2 separate regions of the Homo sapiens genome follow, and region 2 is linked to region 1. The links are contacts of gene promoters, found by promoter capture Hi-C in blood cells and fetal thymus (Javierre and others, 2016). All regions are on one chromosome and are shown on one strand. Each heading gives the region's core, a stretch centred on a gene start or on the middle of the fragment in contact. The rest is flanking DNA. Distances are from core to core; before and after follow the strand shown. Region 1 holds the start of RPL23A (ribosomal protein L23a). Region 2 holds the start of HES7 (hes family bHLH transcription factor 7).

Region 1 (4,756 bases), core at 2,173-4,672:
AGCCAATTCTCTTATGGGAAACACCACAGGCCACATTAAGACTTAAACCAAGGTAATCTGCCACGTGTCGCACTCTAGTTGCCTTTCCCAATAGAAGTAGGGACCCAGAAAATGAGGACCAACCCCCAATCAAGTCCTAGAAAGCCTCAGGTCCACACAAAGGTCTGTAACTAAAGCAGCCTGTAATTCCTGCCTCAAGGCTCACACACACTGCTAAACCTACACCAAGTTTAAGTCAAGGAACCTTTTTCCCCTGCTGAAAGGTCCAGGGGATTTTTTTTTTTTTTTTTTTTAAAAAGGGCCTTGCTTGGTTGCTCAGGCTGGAGTACAATGGGGCAATCATGGGTGATTCCTGGCCTCAAGAGATCCTCCTGCATAGCTCGGACTACACGTGTAGTCCTGCATTACCAGGACTACCTAAACATCAAAAAGCTTCATGGAATGCAGGTTTTTTTGGCTCCAGACTGCTGGTCCAGCCTGCTCCCCATCCCTTGAGGCCCAACTCACCGAATCAGGGTGTTGACCTTGGCCACATCAATGTCATACAGCTTCTTCACAGCCTGTTTAATCTGGTGCTTGTTGGCTTTAACATCCACAATGAACACAAGTGTGTTGTTGTCTTCTATCTTCTTCATGGCAGACTCAGTGGTCAGCGGAAACTTGATGATAGCATAGTGGTCAAGCCTGGGAGAGGCAAAATGGGGTCACCTGGCCTGGGCCCATTCTTTTGGAGCCCAGAGCCAGGAGAGCCTAGGTGCATCAGACAACGAGGTACCAATCACTTTGTTCAGACTTTGGTCGCTTTACAGTGTCATCATCTGCACCCTGAAATCTAAGGGCCTGAAGCCCCAATCCCAGGGGCAGAACGTTGTGCATTTTCTTTCTCTTGAAGGGCTCTTACAACCTCAAGTGATTAAAGAATCATCTCTGGGCCAGGTGTGCTGGCTCATGGCTGTATTCCCAGCACTTTGGGAGGCTGAGGCAGGCTGATCACGAGGTCAAGAGATCGTGACCATCCTGGCCAACATGGTGAAACTCCCTCTCAACTAAAAATACAAAAATTAGCTGGTCATGGTGGTGCACGCCTGTAGTCCGAGCTACTCAAGAGGCTGAGGCAGGAGAATCGGGCCAGGGGCAAATTCCTTTTTTTTTTTTTTTTTTGAGACAGAGTCTCGCTTCGCCCAGGCTGGAGTGCAGTGACAGGATCTCGGCTCGCTGCAAGCTCCGCCTCCTGGGTTCACACCATTCTCCTGCTTCAGCCTGGGACTCAGTAGTGGGACTAGCGGCGCCTGCCACCACGCCCGGCTAATTTTTTTTGTATTTTTAGTAGAGACGGGGTTTCACCGTGTTAGCCACGATGGTCTCAATCTCCTGACCTCGTGATCCGCCCGCCTCAGCCTCCCAAAGTGCTGGGATTACAGGCTCGAGCCACCGCGCCCGGCCAGCCACGAGCAAATTCTTATGCATAGGTGAGGTTAAGCCACAGCAGTGGCTTAAGCACAACTGTAACACAGCTTTCCCCATTTAAAGTCACACTTGATTCTAGGTCCAGCTTGGTGGCGGGAGGGGCAGGAAGACAGTCTGTGAACTGCTTTCCTATATGAACACAATCCACTTTTTCTGTTAAGAAAGAGTAGAAGCAGCAAAAACCCATTGGTACTAACTACTACCATGGCTCTACTCAAATCTGTGCTCCCTAAAAAGTCAGTTATTACCGATAGCTCAAATACTCAAGTGCCCAACCTTCTGCCCATTCCCCCCCAACTGTTCCTTGAGCAGTATGAAAATTCGGGAAAATGAATGGAAAGAAGCTTCTATACACCGCAGCAGGCCATAACTGCCAAATACAGATAATGGAATCCCCACTATCAATCAAGAATCAATCCACGTTCTCACCCTCAAGGATTGTTCCCGATAGCAGTAGGAGCTATGAGCAAGGAATCTCTGTATTCTACTTTATACTCCCCCCAAAATAAGTTTTCAAACCGTGACCACATGTGAAGCAATAATTAACCTAACAAATTTTGAGAGACTCAGGGTTTTTTTTTTTTTGAGACAGAGTTTCACTCTTATTGCCCAGGCTGGAATGCAATGGTACGATCTCCGCTCACCGCAACCTCCACCTCCCGGGTTCAAGCGATTCTCCTGCCTCAGCCTCCCGCGAGTAGCTGGGATTACAGACATGCGCCACCATGCCCGGCGAATTTTCTATTTTTAATAGACGCGGGGTTTCTCCATGTCACTCAGGCTGGTCTCGAACCCCTGACCTCAAGTGATCCGCCCCCCCTCGGCCTCCCAAAGTGCTGGGATTACAGACGTGAGCCACCGCGCCCGGCCTCTGGGCTGATCCTGCCAGTTTTGTAAATGCAGCAGAAACAATCTCCTCATACTTCCAATTAGAGAAGCACACTGGACACAATTTGCGTTTGAGAAACCATCACGCAGAGTGAGTGAATTTCCAAATTACCAATGGAGAATACCCAAATCTTTTCATGGGTACAGGGGGCAGTACTGACTTGTTTCTCCTGGGAGCGCTCTTCCGAGGATATTTGGGCTGTCTCCGGAGTCGCAGTGTCTTCGGCCGCCGGAAGGTGGGTGACGTGCGGATCTTCTTCTTTTTGTGGCTGTGGACACCTTTCAACACTGCCTTCTTGGCCTTTAAAGCCTTCGCTTTGGCTTCAGCTTTAGGAGGGGCAGGAGCTGGGAGAAAAGGAAAGAAAACGTGGGTGCGGGATTTAGAAATCGGTCACTTCCGGCCCCAAGAACTGCAGTGGGCCACCCTGGCCACAGGTGCATCAGTGGTTCCTTTGAAGACATCACAAGTGTCAGGAGATTAAAACTTTTCCATCATATGCACGATACCAGAGGCGAAAGCGACCAACTCTAAGTAACTCCAGGGATACGACTATGAAACAAAGTAGCACTGAATGAACGCTTGATACTTTCCAGAAAATGTCCTACGAATTTTACACATACCCCATCGCAAAACCACGCTGCGGAGAGAGGGGCGGGTAATGTAGCCCGGTTGAACATGAACCAGAAGGAAAATGGTTAAAGCTGAGGGCACTAATTCCTTACAGGCCCGGGGACATGGAGCTCCAACCAGTGGATGCATGTAGCTTCCCAGAACCGAATGTCTGGCCCTCCCTGGCGGATGATGCCTGCCGCGTTGCCCCCCCCCAACTCCCTCTACCGGAACTCAGCCCACGAGGCTGGGCCCACGCGGCCCACGTATACTGCAGCGTGTCCGAAACGCAGGGAGCAGCCCCGGAGCAGAGCCCTCAGGGCTTAGCCCAGCAGCCGTGTTCCCAATTCGTTCGCTCTGCGGCGCGGCAATCCCCGGTAAACCAGCTGCGGCCCCATCACCAACACACACCTTCCTTCTTCGCTTTCGGCGCCATCTTGTGAAAAGGGTCTCCAATGCTCGTTCCCACGGGCTTATAGCGCCAAAGAGCACTAAAGACTCGCGATGCTTTGTACTTAGAGCTGATTGGGTAATTTGCAGAGCGGCGCCCTCTGGGAACGGTAGTTAGGTTTAATTTCTTTTTCGTGCGTGAACAAACATGCGCCACTCCTCCCCTCAAAGGCACTAAAGCTTCATGGGGGTTGTAGTTTTTTGTTTTTTGTTTTTTGTTTTTTTTTTGAGCGCTCTGTCGCCCAGGCTGGAGTGCAGTGGCGCGATCTCGGCTCACTGTAAGCTCCGCCTCCCGGGTTTACGCCATTCTCCTGCCTCAGCCACCAGAGTAGCTGGGACTACAGGCGCGTGCCACCATGGGGATTGTAGTTTTTTGAAGACACGCGTTTATTTGCTCAGGCCAGCGGACGGCGTAGCCGGCTGGCGCTCGGGTCTGGTCCCGGGAGCTTCCTATCTTGAGCAACTGCCAGTCTCAGGGAAGAGGATTGCCATGCCAGGAGGCAGGAACGCTGCCAAGAGGAAAGAACACATTTGGATTGACTCGGGAGTTAGATACAGCTAAGTTCTAGAGTGCTGGAGCAGGATTTGCTCGGTCGAACTGAGGTCCAGAGAGGAATGTGGTTTATCAATAACACAGTGATTTGGTGGCAGAAAAAAATCAAGTCAGGGCCGGGCGCGGTGACTCACGCCTGTAATCCCAGCACTTTGTGAGGCCGAGGTGGACGAATTGCTTCGAGCCCAGGAGTTCGAGACCACCCTGGGCAACACGGCGAAACCCTGTCTCTACAAAAGAATACAAAAATTAGCCGGGCGTGGTGGTGCGTGCCTGTAGTCCCAGTTCCTTGGGAGGCTGAGGTGGGAGGATCGCTTCAGCCCTGGAGGTCGAGGCTGCAATGAGCCATTCCAGCCTGGGTGGCAGAGTGAGACCCTGTCTCAAAATAAATAAATAAATAAATAAATAAATAATCGAGTCACGAGGGGGAAGTGTCAGAGGAAGTACAAGGCGGCCACACCTGCCCCTCTTTACCTGCGACACTGATACTGTCAAGTTTTACTGCGTTTCCTGATAATGCATTTGAAGTTCTATGAAAATTCCACACATTTCTCCAAGATTCGCTAGTTTTTCCGGTTAGTAACTTCACTCACAATCCCCTGCCCTAAACTAGTCTTCCCTTCCGTGTCCTGGTCATCTTTACATCCTCAAATTCAGCTCCAGACACAGAGAAAGGTTTCTTAACACTCAGGTTCGCTTCTCCTAAGGTGTGTGCCTAACCCATCCCCACTTGATCCTTTCTTCTTCCCTCTCCCTTCATAAAACCAGACATGTCCCCTTTGACGGTG
Region 2 (6,945 bases), core at 1,684-4,183, about 21 Mb after region 1:
GTAAACCAGCCAGTGCCCCCATTCACCCCTCACTTCCCGCACTCCCAGGCCAGTTTCTCTCCTTCCCCTCCCCCCTTCACTCCTCCTCTTTCCGGGAGCCTCGTGCCGGGTCCTAGAGGGGCAGAATCTGGATGTCGAAGGGGGCGGGGTCGGGTCCTATCCCTCCTACCCTTGGGCCGCGGAATATAAGGCTCCAGGCGAGCAGGGAACCGGTCCACACAGGGTCCGGAGGAGCAATGGTCACCCGGGATCGAGCTGAGAATAGGGACGGCCCCAAGGTGAGAGGCGGGAGGGGAGGGAGCAGAGGTCCCTGGTTTGGCTAGGGGACTGGGCCCCTGACGCCGTCGGTCTGGAGAGAGGCTGGGGACGCAGGGGTGGAAGGGGAGCGGTGCTCCAGAACTCCAGGAGCCAGAAGCTGGAGAGGAAGCTGCAAAATATGAAGAAGGGGACAGGGGTCAGAGCCAGACCTGAGTGGGCGGCGGGAACATAGGACTAGGGGCCTCGGTAATGGGTGTCGGCACCTTGTGGCCTGGGGAGGGGGCCGGTGTTGGAGTAAAATAAGCAATTAGAGGGCAGAGCCAAGGGAGGAGGGTGGGAACGAAAAGAGAAGAGGATAGGCACTTGCTCCACTCTGGCTGTGAGCCGGGCGGGGCTGGCCCAAGGCGGTCTTGTACAGAAGGTCCCGGGGCGTTGGTTCCAGAGGCCCCAGACTGGTGGAAGATTTTAGGAGAACCGTGGAGAAGGTGAAGGCCTGGAGGGTTTTGAGGGAAAAGAGGCGGCGCGGTCGCGCTAGGTATCTCCCTTTCTATACTCAGGGCCGCCAGGTCTGAGCCCGGCACCGTGCGGCGCACGTGCGTGCGCGCAGAGAGTCCCCAAAGTTCTCCACTGAGACAAAGAGAAACTGCACCAGACGGAGACGTAGAGAGAAAAGAGGAGGAGAGACACAGAGAGGGGAGGAGGGAGGACGAGACTGAGAGAGGAGAATGCGAAGATCCGGGGAGGCGAGCTACAGAAACTGATCTAGGGGCATTGGGAGGGGGAGCGGAGAGGGATCGAATGGGGCCGGCCCTAGGCAATCTGGGGTCTTGTGGCCGGGGTGGAAGCCGGGCTCTCCCAGCGGCGGGATCCGACGCCGGGGCGGCCGCACTGAGTCTCGGTCTGGTCGGCCCGCTCTCCTTTTCTCGCTGGTCGCAGATGCTCAAGCCGCTTGTGGAGAAGCGGCGCCGGGACCGCATCAACCGCAGCCTGGAAGAGCTGAGGCTGCTGCTGCTGGAGCGGACCCGGGACCAGGTCAGTCCCTCCGCTAGCCCTAGGTCCCCAAGCTTCCCGTTTCCGCGTCCCAGGGCTTCCCACTGGGGTGGGGACACAAGCTTGGTTGGCAACCCTGGCCCCAAGGCATCCTCACCCGAGTCCCGCCTTTGGAATTCCATCCCAGACCCCCACTCGCTCTCAGAACGCGATCTTCTTCGCCACCCCTCGGGTCTGTAAGTTTCACGCCTGGTTCTGTAAATTTCGCTCCCGGGGTCGGTCAGTTTCACCCTTTGGGTCTCTAAGTGTCCGGTTCCCCCTCCCCCACAGCCAGCCTCTGATGAGCCAGCCTCTGTTATGTCGGGTGGTTAATTTCATTCCCTGGGTTGCGGTTTCAAATCTCCTCCTCACGCGTTGGGCATTGGTTCCAACCCCTAGGATTGGACAGTTTCGTCTCAGGGTGGGCCAGGACTTTCCTTGGTCATCTCCACTCCGCATTTGGTCGCGCGTTCTGTGGGCAGTGCGCAAATGCGATCGGGGGCACCACCAGCTCCCGCATCCGTCCCTCCCTTCTTCCCCCTGCCACTTTCCCCCTTTCTCCCCACCCCTTTCTGTCTCTGCGCCCTCCCCTCCCGTCTGTAGAACCTCCGGAACCCGAAGCTGGAGAAAGCGGAGATATTGGAGTTCGCCGTGGGCTACTTGAGGGAGCGAAGCCGGGTGGAGCCCCCGGGTACAGCGCGGGGGTGGGGCAGCGGAGGGAGGGAGGGGGGACGCCAGGAGGCTCCGGCCGGGGCAGAGTGGGCGGGCCCTGCGGTGGATGGTGGGCTTGGGGAGTGGCCGGTTCTGCTCCGAGGCGAGGTTAATAACACCCGCGCGTGTCTGTCTCTGTGTCTCCCTCATTTTCTCCCTCTTTCCGTCCATCTGGCTTCCTGTCTCTGTGCGCCTGTCCGGCCTTGGTATCTCTGCGCCCCGCCCCTTCCCTCACCCCTGCCGGGCCCCTGCCCTGCCCACCTGTGCTCCCGCCGGCCGCACCAGCCGCCGCGGCTCCAGGGGTTCCCCGGTCCCCAGTCCAGGACGCCGAGGCGCTCGCCAGCTGCTACTTGTCCGGTTTCCGCGAGTGCCTGCTTCGCTTGGCGGCCTTCGCGCACGACGCCAGCCCGGCCGCCCGCGCCCAGCTCTTCTCCGCGCTGCACGGCTATCTGCGCCCCAAACCGCCCCGGCCCAAGCCGGTAGATCCGAGGCCTCCAGCGCCGCGCCCATCCCTGGACCCCGCCGCACCGGCCCTTGGCCCTGCGCTGCACCAGCGCCCCCCAGTGCACCAGGGCCACCCTAGCCCGCGCTGCGCATGGTCCCCATCCCTCTGCTCCCCGCGCGCCGGGGATTCTGGCGCGCCGGCGCCCCTCACCGGACTGCTGCCGCCGCCACCGCCGCCTCACAGACAAGACGGGGCGCCCAAGGCCCCGCTGCCCCCGCCGCCCGCTTTCTGGAGACCTTGGCCCTGAGCCTTGGGGGGTGGTGGGGGCGGGGTCTAGGGGTGGGGTAGAGACTCCAGCCCGAGGGCAGCAGAGGGACCCGGGCGTCCGGGCGAGCAGGTGTTGGGGAGGGCAGTGGGGCGCGCGGGCTCAGCGCGCGGGTGAGATGTGGTCTATATTAGAGTATCTATATAAATATATATTTCCCTGGTTCCTGTCCCTTTTCCCTGCCCCAACTTCTCCCTTGCGTCTAGGATTGTACTCTCTCTGCCCCTCAGCCCAGTCCCAGTCCCTTCCCGAGTCCCTAGTGCATGGAATAAAGTGGTTATTAAATCCCCGTGTGTCCCCGAGCCAGGGGCCTGCCTTTATCTCGACGTCCACGCCCACTTTCCCTTCCCTTCTGTCTCCCACCCTCAGTCCTGCTCTCCATGGCCCAAGCCCCGGGGCAGACAGGTAAGTAAAGAAGAGAGCAGAGCGGGAACTGAGATCGAAATTGAAACCAGGTGGAAAGAGAGAGATAGGGTAGGGGGAGAAGGGATGGGGGCCTTTAAGAAAAAAACGGATAAAAAGGAAAAATTGAAATAAAATCGACTCTGGTGGGATTCGAACCCACAACCTTTGAATTGCTCTATTCGTCACTAGAAGTCCAATGCGCTATCCATTGCGCCACAGAGCCACCCGACGAACGGCGGCGTCTTGTAGCTTACGGGTACTAGAGTGGGAATGGGGCAGGGTTGGGGAGCGGGGCTAAGGGACTTGGGCGGGACATGCCAGGAGGGCGCGGTTTGGATCTCAGAGGCCAAGCCAGGTAGAGGTAGCGGGCGCAAAGCATGTTAGCCAGGTGAGAGAGAGGGCGCACATGGGTCGAAAAAACAGGGAGGGAGAGCAACCGAAAATGGCTGAGCGAGCGAGTGCAGAGCTCCGGCTGCCCGCTTGGGGGGTGTTTCCGGCTCAGGCGCTCCCCACTCCCAGATATAGTCCCACCCAAATAAACTAGTTTTGTTGTAAATTTCTGTGTGTTTTTGTCTCTTCTCGTTTATCTGTTCTGCCATCTGCTGCTATGCGGTCCACAGTCTCGATGGTTCTTCATTTCCAGTCTAAAAGATGTGGAAAAGGAGACGAATCAATTTGGCACTCTTAAGATTTGCCCCATTCCTTACTTCTAGTCTCTTAGGAGGACAACGGGGACAGTAAGTTTTCGTGCAGGTAGCGTGGCCGAGCGGTCTAAGGCGCTGGATTTAGGCTCCAGTCTCTTCGGAGGCGTGGGTTCGAATCCCACCGCTGCCAGGCTGGAGTTTTTCTGGTGGATTACGCACCTGCTACAGTTCTGTTAACAGTTCTGTGAGGTTACACCTATTTACATGCAGAAAGTAATTTTACGAATTCCCCTGGTAATGGTTTCACCATCATCTTCCGTGTTTGGTCTTCCAGAGAGATCATAGGCCTGCATCCATCCCAGAAGCTAAGACCTGATGGTAACTGCTGAAGCAATATTTCGTTTCTTCATAACATCTCTATTATTTCGTTTCTTCATAACATCTCTATTTTAACATGTTTTCAAATGTTAGCTCAACTTCCAACATATTTAAATAATTTATTGTACGTTCTCTTAACACTGTGTTATAGGACTCAATTATCCGGTAGGAAAAGCACAAATAATTGGTAGTGTCCTAGTTTACTTTTTTTTTTTGTCGTATTATCTTGGGTCATAGGAGTATCCCCTCTGTGAAAATCAATTAACAATATTCAACATGCTGATATTAAAAGAAAAGCTTCAAGGTTCCACCGAGATTTGAACTCGGATCGCTGGATTCAGAGTCCAGAGTGCTAACCATTACACCATGGAACCTCCCTCGTGGTGTCTTTCAAGATTGTGTACATTACTGGACATTCTATTTTGCGTGTCTTCCACACCCGTCACTTAAAACGAAAACAAAACAAAGTCTGCTGTTGGATATGGTAGACACCGTTATCGAGCACTTGAAATATATGAATTCAGATGTATTGCCAGCTTCTAAATACACATCTTCTTTTGAAGGAAGGCTTTGTACAAACAAAAAGACTTAAAATTTCATTAATATTTTTAGAATGTTGATTATATGTTAAAATAAGATTTTGGTATATTAGGGTAAGTAAAATAGATCCGTGAAATTAATTTCGCTTGCTTTTTATTCTTTGTAATGTGGCTACCAGAAAATGTAAATTCGATAATACGGCTCGCGTTTGTACTGTTTTAAAGTATGTTTATTACCCTCCACCGTCGTTTGCTGTATTTTGTGGAAATCAAGTTTCTGTATCACCTAGCTTTAAAAACTAGTAACTATTTTTGTTACCATTTTATGCGAAGTGCGGTACCCAAAAGCAAAGACATGCCGCCCGAACAGGGACTTGAACCCTGGACCCTCAGATTAAAAGTCTGATGCTCTACCGACTGAGCTATCCGGGCTCTTCACGAGAGCTTTACTTTTTGCTTATAAGAGGGTTCTCTATAGGAAAAGCCAGGCTTGTAGAACCGACAGAGGATTTTATCTGTGCAGCATAGAATATTTTGGCACAGATTTGGAAGCAGCGGGTGAAGCTCGCCTGCTGCTGATTGAGCTTTTTCTGCCTCCCGTTCTTAGAGCCCCCGCCGAGGCTGCGACGCAGGGACTGTACCATAGTAGAGGCTGGAACAGTGCGGCGCCGGAACCGGCCGCGCGGGGCCGCTGCGGGCTATGGGCTTCTCTGAGAGGTTCCTCCCCAGTCCCTAGTGGCCCAGATCCCGGACACCTGGGCTCCCGCCCAGGATCCTGCAGGCCCAGGGCGGTCCTGGAGCGGAAAGAATGCCACGCGGGGCATTCAGACCCTGTTTGCCGGCGCTGTATTTCGCTTTCCTGACCTGCCCTACTCCAGAGCAGAGAATGAGGTCGGGCGTGCCAAAGGCTGGGGACAAAGAGGGCCATGCGTGGGGGGATCGGTGTATGGGGTGACAGGGAGCTGTTCCTGACCATTTGACATGTGCTGGAATGCGTGTGCGACTCACCTGCGTGTGGCTGCAGTCACGTGTGATTTATGACCAAGTGCAACTCTCCACTGTTTAGTGATTCACACGGATGATTCACACGTAGGAATGCAGGTGCCCTGTGCTCATCTCTGCCTGGGAATGGGGAGGAACAGATCTTGGGGGACATTGGGGAGTGGGCGGACAAGCACTCCAGGGCATCAGTCCGGGCCGCTGACCAGGCGGAGGGCAGTGTCCCAATTATACAGGCGTTACCTCCTTTTCTCCATCTCAGCATCTGATCCCTCCCTCCGCAGTGGAACCCAGGCTCCTGATATCCATCTGGGTGAGCCAGCCAGAGGGACCGGCTGTGTCAGAGGCAAGCAAACAAGTATTAGAGTGCAAGACTGTGGGCGGAGAGAGGAAGCCCGAGCCGCCAGCAGGGAGCTTCGGAGAGAGAAAGCCCAGGAACATCCCAGAGAGAGCTGGGCCCATCCTCAGCCCTACCCAGCCCCGCAGCCCCTAGCCCTCCGCCCAGAAACCCAGCCCTGTCCGGCGTGCCGCTCTTCTCCTCCAGGCCGGCTGCTGCTGCGGCCAGCGTTGCCGGGGCATCCCTTCCTCCTTCCCATCATGGCAGTGTACCGCCTGTGTGTGACCACTGGTCCCTACCTGAGGGCCGGCACACTGGACAACATCTCTGTCACACTGGTGGGCACGTGTGGTGAAAGCCCCAAGCAGCGGCTAGATCGAATGGGCAGGGACTTCGCCCCTGGATCGGTGAGTACAAAGGAGACAGGGAAGCGCGACCTCAGAGGGGCAGGGGCCGCAGGCGGGAGGAGTATTCCTCCTGGACTCTTGAGATCCTGCTGAACTCAGGATACCGGCCCTGACCTCCTCACCTTCCCTATTGAGGTCCCTGTCTTTCCTGGAGATGATGAACTCCATCCAGGCAGGACTGTGGAGAGGAAGGAGCGTTGGACAGGGAGTAGAGGGACTTCCCCTGGCTCCTAAACTCCTCCCATAATTGACCGTGGGCTTTGGGCAAGTCGCTTCCCCTCTCTGAGCCTGGGTTTCCTCTTATCGAGGGGATCTGCCTGCCTCTGCCAGCCCCAGGTGGCCTCCACAAGAGTTCCCAGCCGGCCTAGGAAGCTAGTGAAATGCAGTGCCCACTGTGCTCGGGCACCTTTTTCTTTTCTTTTTGAGATGGAGTTTTGCTCTTGTTGCCCAGGCTGGAGGGCAGTGGTG

What was found. Contacts are between HindIII fragments. The CHiCAGO score rates a contact against its expected background, and 5 or more counts as called.
Region 2: a fragment that was not itself captured here is called in contact with the fragment with the promoter of RPL23A in region 1 in 1 of 17 cell types (activated CD4 T cells); the score reaches 8.0 in activated CD4 T cells.

What each region holds. Positions count from the first base shown.
Region 1 is chr17:28,718,651-28,723,406 of GRCh38, reverse strand. RPL23A (ribosomal protein L23a) reads right to left here and starts at 3,422. Exons shown (of 5, transcript NM_000984.6): 1 at 3,377-3,422; 2 at 2,517-2,700; 3 at 508-684. The coding sequence starts at 3,401. SNORD42B (small nucleolar RNA, C/D box 42B) reads right to left here and starts at 2,857; the gene lies at 2,791-2,857. SNORD4A (small nucleolar RNA, C/D box 4A) reads right to left here and starts at 825; the gene lies at 754-825. RefSeq lists enhancers at 2,708-2,867, 3,208-3,427, 3,858-3,907, 3,564-4,165, 4,166-4,756. The HindIII fragment of the contact is 1,784 bases long and covers 1,814-3,597 here.
Region 2 is chr17:8,117,376-8,124,320 of GRCh38, reverse strand. It overlaps HES7 (hes family bHLH transcription factor 7), which reads left to right and starts at 215. Exons shown (of 4, transcript NM_001165967.2): 1 at 215-278; 2 at 1,195-1,290; 3 at 1,891-1,978; 4 at 2,284-3,729. The coding sequence starts at 237. The coding sequence ends at 2,750. It overlaps TRL-TAG1-1 (tRNA-Leu (anticodon TAG) 1-1), which reads left to right and starts at 3,926; the gene lies at 3,926-4,007. It overlaps TRR-TCT2-1 (tRNA-Arg (anticodon TCT) 2-1), which reads right to left and starts at 3,396; the gene lies at 3,309-3,396. ALOXE3 (arachidonate epidermal lipoxygenase 3) reads left to right here and starts at 5,807. Exons shown (of 16, transcript NM_021628.3): 1 at 5,807-5,835; 2 at 6,018-6,477. The coding sequence starts at 6,331. It also overlaps TRK-TTT3-5 and TRQ-CTG1-5. RefSeq lists enhancers at 1-357, 5,241-5,340, 5,491-5,560, 5,641-5,720, 5,442-6,641 and silencers at 2,141-2,250, 2,471-2,930, 3,871-4,080, 4,451-4,540, 4,671-4,720. The HindIII fragment of the contact is 3,122 bases long and covers 1,373-4,494 here.